Linked DNA regions of Homo sapiens: region 2 is linked to region 1. Evidence: promoter capture Hi-C in 16 types of primary human blood cells and fetal thymus (Javierre and others, 2016). All regions are on one chromosome and are shown on one strand. Each heading gives the region's core, a stretch centred on a gene start or on the middle of the fragment in contact. The rest is flanking DNA. Distances are from core to core; before and after follow the strand shown.

The links. The method cuts DNA at HindIII sites, captures the fragments that hold promoters and counts their contacts. A CHiCAGO score of 5 or more calls a contact.
Region 2: a fragment that was not itself captured here is called in contact with the fragment with the promoter of CDK5R2 in region 1 in 2 of 17 cell types (M1 macrophages and M0 macrophages); the score reaches 5.2 in M1 macrophages.

The regions. Positions count from the first base shown.
Region 1 is chr2:218,957,849-218,961,871 of GRCh38, forward strand. CDK5R2 (cyclin dependent kinase 5 regulatory subunit 2) reads left to right here and starts at 1,818. Exons shown (of 1, transcript NM_003936.5): 1 at 1,818-4,023. The coding sequence starts at 1,973. The coding sequence ends at 3,076. RefSeq lists a silencer at 1,801-2,070. The HindIII fragment of the contact is 8,518 bases long and covers 1-4,023 here.
Region 2 is chr2:219,138,638-219,142,660 of GRCh38, forward strand. All of the region lies in intron 5 of NHEJ1 (non-homologous end joining factor 1), which reads right to left. Among named protein-coding and RNA genes, the nearest start is that of NHEJ1, 20 kb to the right of the region's middle. The HindIII fragment of the contact is 2,399 bases long and covers 864-3,262 here.

The sequences.
Region 1 (4,023 bases), core at 568-3,067:
TTAACTACCGGTGAACTGACTATTCCTTGGTTGGCAGATAAAGAGTGACTCAGAACACCTTGTAGGAGGAAGTGGGGCCAATTACAGGAGCTGAAAAGAGGGAACACTTTCAAGAACTATGAGGAGAATGAGTTTGGGAAGGTCAGCTTGGGCTGCAAGAAAATAAAGATCAGATCCTAGGGAGCAGAGATACCCTGTTGAAAAAGTGCATATTGGGTGCTGAGTTAGGGAGAAGGTACAAGGCTGCATGTGCACAGTGGTAAAGAGGAGGGGAATGGAGACAGGCAGACCACAGGCCTCCAGGAGGGTGTGAGTGACCAGGGGCTGTGGAATGGCTGGGAAATTCTGTACCTCTGGTAGCTGGAACTGCAGCCCAAGTGGATTCTAGAACAGCCTATCTGCAGTGACACACACACACACATATATGCACAAACCAACCCTGACAGCAGTGGATCCTTGGAGCTATGTTTGCGGTCTGTGAGGAGCATGGAGGTGACTCCAAGGGCAATCCTTAGAATTTACTGAAATACATAGGCAGGGGTTTGGCTCCACATGGAACCCATATGCACCTACAAGGTCCACTTACTTAAGAAGCCTGAAGGCTCTTGTGCTGGGGGAGCCACAGAGAGCAGGCTCCAAGAAGGGTGGACATGATCTAACAAGGCAGATAGAATAGGTCCAGAACTAGCTGTGCTCAAGACCTGCAGGTAAGGCCTGGGGAGTCCAAAATCCAGGGCAAAGGGCTGATGGGTACTCAGGAGGTAACAGACAGACCCAGAGAGAAGTGGACAGGACCCAGCCTAACAGCTTGCTCCTGGGAGTGGGGACAGCTGGAACCTTACCTGCAGGAAGCATTTAATGATGAAACCCACCTCAACCTGGACCCAGGGCTGGGCTGGAGGTTGGTCCAACCCTCTTGGGCTTCCGTCCACACAGGAGGCTCCGTTCACTATCCAAGACTGGGTAGACCAAGTGATCCAATTTCTAGCGTTTCCCCAGGGACCAACCTTATCCATCATCCACCCAAGTATGAGATCTGTGTGTGTTAGTGGGGACAACCAACCGAGAGGAGCTGCCCAGGGACCAGAGCCAAGGGTCTGCCCCACAGGCTCAGTTGCAGAGAATCAGGACGGCAAGCAGAAGCCTCAGGGGCATATTTGAGACCTTGCTGCTCCCCCTCTCCCCCTCAAGCTGGAACCCCCAAGAAGGCGGGTTGTGACCTGCAAGAAGGCTCTGCCAGGACTCCCAAACAGGCAGGGCAGAAATGTGCCTGCTGCAGCCCCCCTAGCGACCTGGGGGGTGGGGGGCGAGGTGGGGTCGCGAAGAGGAAACAGACCTGACAGTCACATTGGAGGAGCCAGTGCAACGCGACCCATCTGGGACCTGGGCATCCGGTGAGGGCACTCACTGCTCACACTGGCCCCCCACACAAATTCAAAGGCAGAGGGAAGGAGAGCTGTTCCCATGGTTTATCTGCTACCGCGACCCAGTGCATCAGAACAAGCTGGTCCAGGCCCTAGGATCCGGAGGAGGCAGGAGCAGCCACCACCCCTTCTCAACTCTGACCCTGAGGAGGCCACTCGAACGACGACCACCGCCTTCCCCTTCCTCCGCTCGGGGGAAGGGAAAAGACTCAGGGCGGAGGGTGGGGATTGGGGCGGGACTTGAAATTGAAGTGCGAGAGTCTATTGGTCATTGGAGCTGCCCATCAGGAGTGCAACTCGGGAGCGGATTGGCCGCGTGAGGCGGGGCACGGCGCGACGAAAAAAGGGGCCCAAGGGGTGGGGCTGACGCTGCAGCTGGCGCAGCTCAGGATTAGAGCAGCGGAGCCGCCTAGCAGCCACCTTCCCCCGCCAGTCCGCGCGCCCGGGCCGGGGCTAGGCCCCCCACCGCCGGGTCCCCCGGGGCTGCAGTAGCAGCGGCGCCGCCCGCGGCTCCCGCTGGGGCCTGGGCGCCGGCCCCGCTCTGCAGGATGGGCACAGTGCTGTCTCTTTCGCCTGCCTCCTCGGCCAAGGGCCGGAGGCCCGGCGGGCTGCCCGAGGAGAAGAAGAAGGCGCCGCCCGCGGGGGACGAGGCGCTGGGGGGCTACGGGGCGCCGCCAGTGGGCAAGGGCGGCAAAGGCGAGAGCCGACTCAAGCGGCCGTCCGTGCTCATCTCGGCGCTCACCTGGAAGCGCCTGGTGGCCGCGTCCGCCAAGAAGAAGAAAGGCAGCAAGAAGGTGACACCCAAGCCGGCATCCACGGGCCCCGACCCCCTGGTCCAGCAACGCAACCGCGAGAACCTTCTCCGCAAGGGCCGGGATCCCCCCGACGGCGGCGGCACCGCCAAGCCCCTGGCGGTGCCAGTGCCCACCGTGCCCGCGGCTGCCGCCACCTGCGAGCCACCGTCGGGGGGCAGCGCGGCCGCTCAGCCGCCGGGCTCGGGCGGGGGAAAGCCTCCGCCGCCGCCTCCCCCAGCCCCGCAGGTGGCGCCGCCGGTGCCTGGCGGCTCGCCGCGGCGGGTCATCGTGCAGGCGTCCACCGGCGAGCTGCTGCGCTGTCTGGGCGACTTCGTGTGCCGACGCTGCTATCGCCTCAAGGAGCTGAGCCCGGGCGAGCTGGTGGGCTGGTTCCGCGGTGTGGACCGCTCGCTGCTGCTGCAGGGCTGGCAAGACCAGGCCTTCATTACGCCTGCAAACCTGGTGTTCGTGTACCTGCTGTGCCGCGAGTCGCTGCGTGGGGACGAGCTGGCGTCGGCCGCCGAGCTGCAGGCCGCCTTCCTCACCTGCCTCTACCTCGCCTACTCCTACATGGGCAACGAGATCTCCTACCCACTCAAGCCCTTCCTCGTGGAGCCCGACAAGGAGCGCTTCTGGCAGCGCTGCCTGCGCCTCATCCAGCGGCTCAGCCCGCAGATGCTGCGGCTCAACGCCGACCCCCACTTCTTCACGCAGGTCTTTCAAGACCTCAAGAACGAGGGCGAGGCCGCCGCCAGCGGCGGGGGCCCACCGAGCGGGGGCGCGCCCGCCGCCTCCTCGGCCGCCAGGGACAGCTGCGCGGCCGGAACCAAGCACTGGACTATGAACCTGGACCGCTAGGGATACCCAGGGGCCGCGCCCATCCCCCGCCCCAGCCCCTGACACACACTCGGACCCCCCGGGACCACAAAGCCACCGCCGCTGTTACCGCCGCTCAGCGCCCCGGCTGGGCGGAGGAGGAGACGCCCATGCCCCTCAGGGGAAAGTGGAGACCGGGACACCAGAGGCCGCGGTGTTTGGATTTGCTGGGCGTGGAGTGGGGACGGAAGATGAGCGCGGGAAAGGCACTCCAACCTCACTCTTCCCGTCTGTCTGCGCCCCCATTTCTCCATTTCTGCCGGGGTCTCCCCCTTCCCTTCAGCCCATTCCCCCTCGGTTTTATCCATTTCCTTGCCTCCTTTTTGTGTCTTCATTTTTCCTCCTGTCTGCATTCCTCTCTCTCTCTCTCCCTCTCTCTCCTGTTCCTCTCTTTCTTCCTCCCTCTCCCTGCCTTTCCATTTTCCGTTCCTTGGGTTTGTGTGTCTGCATCTCCATCTTACCCCTTGCCTGACTGTACCCCGTAGACCCCTGTTTCTCCTCCTGCACCTGTGTCCCCATCTGCCCTTCTTGTTGCTCCTGTCATGTGTCACCATCTTCCCTCCTGTCTGCCTTCTTCCTCCACTTGTGTCAGCTTGCATTTTTTTATTCCTGACTGAGTCACCACACCCCTCTCCCCTGATCAAAGGGAATATTAGTTTTTAATTTGGATCGACTGAGGTGCCAGGAGAAACTGCAGTCCCAGGTATCCAGACAGCCACCAGGATGGTCCCTCGCCCCACCCCCACCGCCTCTCCCCACCTTTTCCAACGTGTTGCATGCTGGGAGCTGGGGGGTGTGGGGGAAGGGGCTGCCGGCTTCTTTCAGGAGGCTGAGGTTTGGAGGCAAAATCAACCTGGGAGACCACCCCGGCCGCGGCGCCTCAGTGGACAGGTGGGAGGAAAAGAAAACTTCTTACCTTGGAGGAGGGA
Region 2 (4,023 bases), core at 813-3,312, 180 kb after region 1:
GACAGGAGATAGACCATAAACAGTAAGTATAATAAAATAAGTAAATTTTATGGCAATATGTTGGAAACTAGGTGCTATAGAAAAAATAAAAAGTAGAGGATGGTAAGATGAAATGGGAGTGCTAAGGTGCAGGGGGGACAAATGGAGCTTACAACTTTAAATGAGTAGTCAGGGTAAACTCTATTGGGAAGGTAACATTTGAAAAAAGACATTGTTGTAGTCCATGTAGATGGATGTAGTCTATGTAGATATGTCTCCAAATTCTTTGACACAGCTCCCCTTAAGAGGTGAAGTTTAATTAATTACCTTCCACTTAAGTGTGACCCAGACTTAGTGACTCATTTCTAATAAAAAGAATACAGTGAGATAGTGATAGAATGTAACTTCTGAAATTAGGTTATAAAAGGACTGCAGGTCCATTTGGTCTTGGTTTCGTTTCTCATTTTCTTTTCTTTTTCTTTTTTTTTTGAGACAGAGTCTCATTCTGTTGCCCAGGCTGGAGTGCAGTGGTGTGATCTCAGCTCACTGCAACCTCTGCCTCCCGGGTTCAAGCAATTCTCCCACCTCAGCCTCCTGAGTAGCTGGGATTACAGGTGCATGCCACCATGTCCAGCTAATTTTTGTATTTTTAGTAGAGACGAAGTTTCACCATGTTGGCCAGGCTGGTCTTGAACTCTTAACCTCAGGTGATCTGCCCGCCTCAGCCTCCAAAAGTGCTGGGATTACAGGCATGAGCCACCCCACCTGGCCTTGGTCTTTGTCTCTTGGATCACTGGCTCTGGAGGAAACCAGGTCCTGTGAGTAGCCCTATGGACAGGCCACATAGCAAGAAATGGCACCTCCTGCCAACAGCCACATGAGAAAGCTTGGATATGAATTATCCGGATGTTACAATGACTGCGTTACCAGCTGACATATTGACTGCAACATCATGAGAGACACTGAGCCAGAATCACACCCACTAAGCTGCTCCCAGATTCCTGACCCTCAGAAACCATGCAAGATAATAAATGTGTTTTTGGTTTTTTGGGGTTTTTTGTTTTTGTTTTTGTTTTCTGAGACAGAGTCTCGCTCTTTCGCCCAGACTGGAGTGCAGTGGCACGATCTCGGCTCACTGCAAGCTCTGAGACCTCCCAGGTTCACGCCATTCTCCCGCCTCAGCCTCCCAAGTAGCTAGGACTACAGGCGCCTGCCACCACACCCGGCTAATTTTTTGTATTTTTATTAGAGACAGGGTTTCACCGTGTTAGCCAGGATGGTCTTGATTTCCTGACCTCATGATCCATCTGCCTTGGCCTCCCAAAGTGCTGCGATTACAGGCGTAAGCCACCGCACCCAGCCTGTTATTTTAAGCCATTAAATTTTGGGACAATTTGTTACACAGCAATGGATAACTAATACAGACTTTAAGGAAGTGAGGAAGTTGGCCACACAAATATCTGAAGAAAGAACATTCCAGGCAGAGGGAACAGCCAATGTAAAGGCCTAAAGGCAGTGTTAGAGTGTTAGAAAAACACTTAAGAGTGTTAGAAAAACAGCAAGAGGCCAGTGTGGCTGCAGTGGAGTGAATGAGGGAGGAAGTTGTAGGAGATGAGGTCAGAAAGGTAAGAGAGTTCTATAAGATCATATAGGGTTTTATAGGCCATGGTAAAGTCTTTGGATTTTACTCTATAAATGAAGTGTTAAGCCAGTGAAGGGCTTTGAGCAGAAGAATATCACGATGTGCCTTGCAACTTAATAAGATAGCTTTGTTGATAATAGGCCAGGAGGGGGTAGGAGTAGCTGCAGGATACAAATAAGGAGGCTTTTGCCATAATGCAGGTAGGAGATGATGGTGGCTCCAGTATGGTAGCAGCAGAGGTGAGATTACGGGCATAGTTTTAAGGTAAAGCCAACAGGATTTCCTGATGGACTTTGGCTGTAGGAAGTGAGAGGACAGCAGTCAGGATGACTCCAAGGTTTTTTCACCCAACTAAAAGTGAAAGAATGAACCTTCCATCAACTTAGATGGGAGGGGGTTGTTGGAAAAGTAAATCTGGGCATACGACTGGAAGTTCAATTTTGGACGTGTTGAATTTAAGATATTTTTTAAACTTCTTCATGAAAATGTTAAACAAGCAGTCTGGAGTTTCAGGGTAAGACCTACAGTGAAGAATAAATGTGAGATTCATCCACAAGGTGGTATTTAAAGATGTTATAGTGGAATGCCAGAGGAGCAGGCTGAAGATGTCAAAAGGATCAAATCATAAATGATCACGTGTGGCGTGCAAGGAGTTTGAACTTTATCCTGTAGGAAACCGGGAGCCACTAAAGGACTCTGAGCAAAAAGTGTCATAATCAAGTTTCAGTTTCAAAGACATCACTCTGACAAAACTACAAATTCAACTGCAGGGGAATAAGAACTGACCAGGAGACAAGTTAGGAGGCTGTTGCATGGTCAAGCCAAAAAAGGGACAGAAAGGCCAGGAACAGTGGCTCACACCTGTAATCCCAAAACTTTGGGAGGCCAAGGCAGGTGGATCACCTGAGGTCAGGAGTTCAAGACCAGCCTGGCCAACATGGTGAAACTCCATCTCTACAAAAAATACAAAAATTAGCTGGGCGTGGTGGCTCAAGCCTGTAGTCCCAGCTACTCAGGAGGCTGGGGCATGAGAATCTCTTGAACCCAGGAGGCAGAGGTTACAGTGAGCCGAGATTGTGCCACTGCACTCTAGCCTGGGCAACAGAGTGAGACTTGGTCTCAAAAAAAAAAAGCAGGGGGGGAGTGGGGGAAAAGGGAGAGAAAAATGGCTAATTTCAGACAACGGGAGGTAGAATAGAGAAGATAGGCAGATTCAAAAGACGGTCAATAAATTAGGCTTTGAAAGTAAGGACAAAGAGGAAAGTGAGTGACTCCCAAATTTCTAGCTTAGAAAACTGAATGGATGATGGTATAATTCCCCAAGATAAGGAATATAAGAGAAATAGTCTGGGGGAGTAGATAATTCATTTTGGACATGTTTAGGATGTGCTTTATGTGGGACATCCAGGTGGAAATGCCAAACATGCAGAAAGAAATATGGGCCTAAAACACAGTGGAGATATAAAATTGGTATTCAGCGATGTACCAACAATAGTTGACACTGGGGTCTAGATGAGATGACCCAGAGGAAGGAAAGTGAAGTCTCAGAGGATCAGGGACCTGATCCTGGGAAACACTAACCTTTAAGAGGCAGGCAGAAGACGGAGAGCCAGCCAAAGAAACCAATTAGAAGTGTGAACAAGCTTAACAAGATGGCAATTTTCAAGTTAAAGCATTGCCCATCTTCCCCAGGCGATATAAGCTCTAGCTTCGTAAGAGCAGCAGTGACTCTCTTCATAGTTTAAAGTATCTGCTCTAGAATCAGGCTGCAACCAGACAGGAGCTGAAGACAGTAACTAAAACTAGGCAGAATATAACAACCATGGCTGCACTTAGGATGCTAAGTCAAATCAATGTTAACTATAGCCCCCTAATTTCTTAGCTAAGGTATTATACTGAACAGATTAAGACTTATAAGGCATTCAGAATGCAGCAGTAAGAACGACTGCAGGGAAGAGAAGAGAAGAGAAGAGGAGAGAAGAGTAGAGAATTGCAAAATCTCCATCTCTGCTAAGGGACCCCTACCAAAGGAAGCCAACTTCAAGCAACTGCCCAGGTTTTGGTGTCAAGGGCTGATTCCTAGCCAGGGGTTGCCAGCTGTAGAGGGCGGGGCTCTATTTTGGGCTGCCTGCTGTCCCTGAGCCTGGCCGCGTCTGGTTTGAGCAGCATGCAGCCCCAGTGACTCACACACCCATGCAAACTGCCTGTGGCTCAGTGGCATGGCCTTGGAATGCCAGCCTTAGGCCAGCTCCCTCCTCACCCCATTACACTGGGATAAATAAATAAAGAGCCCGCCAGCAGCCACACAGCCTGATGGCAACCAGATGGAGAGAGCGAGGCATGGACAGGGCCAGGGGAAGGAACTCCCTCCAGTGGACTAGACTGAGAGTGGGCTCTGCCCA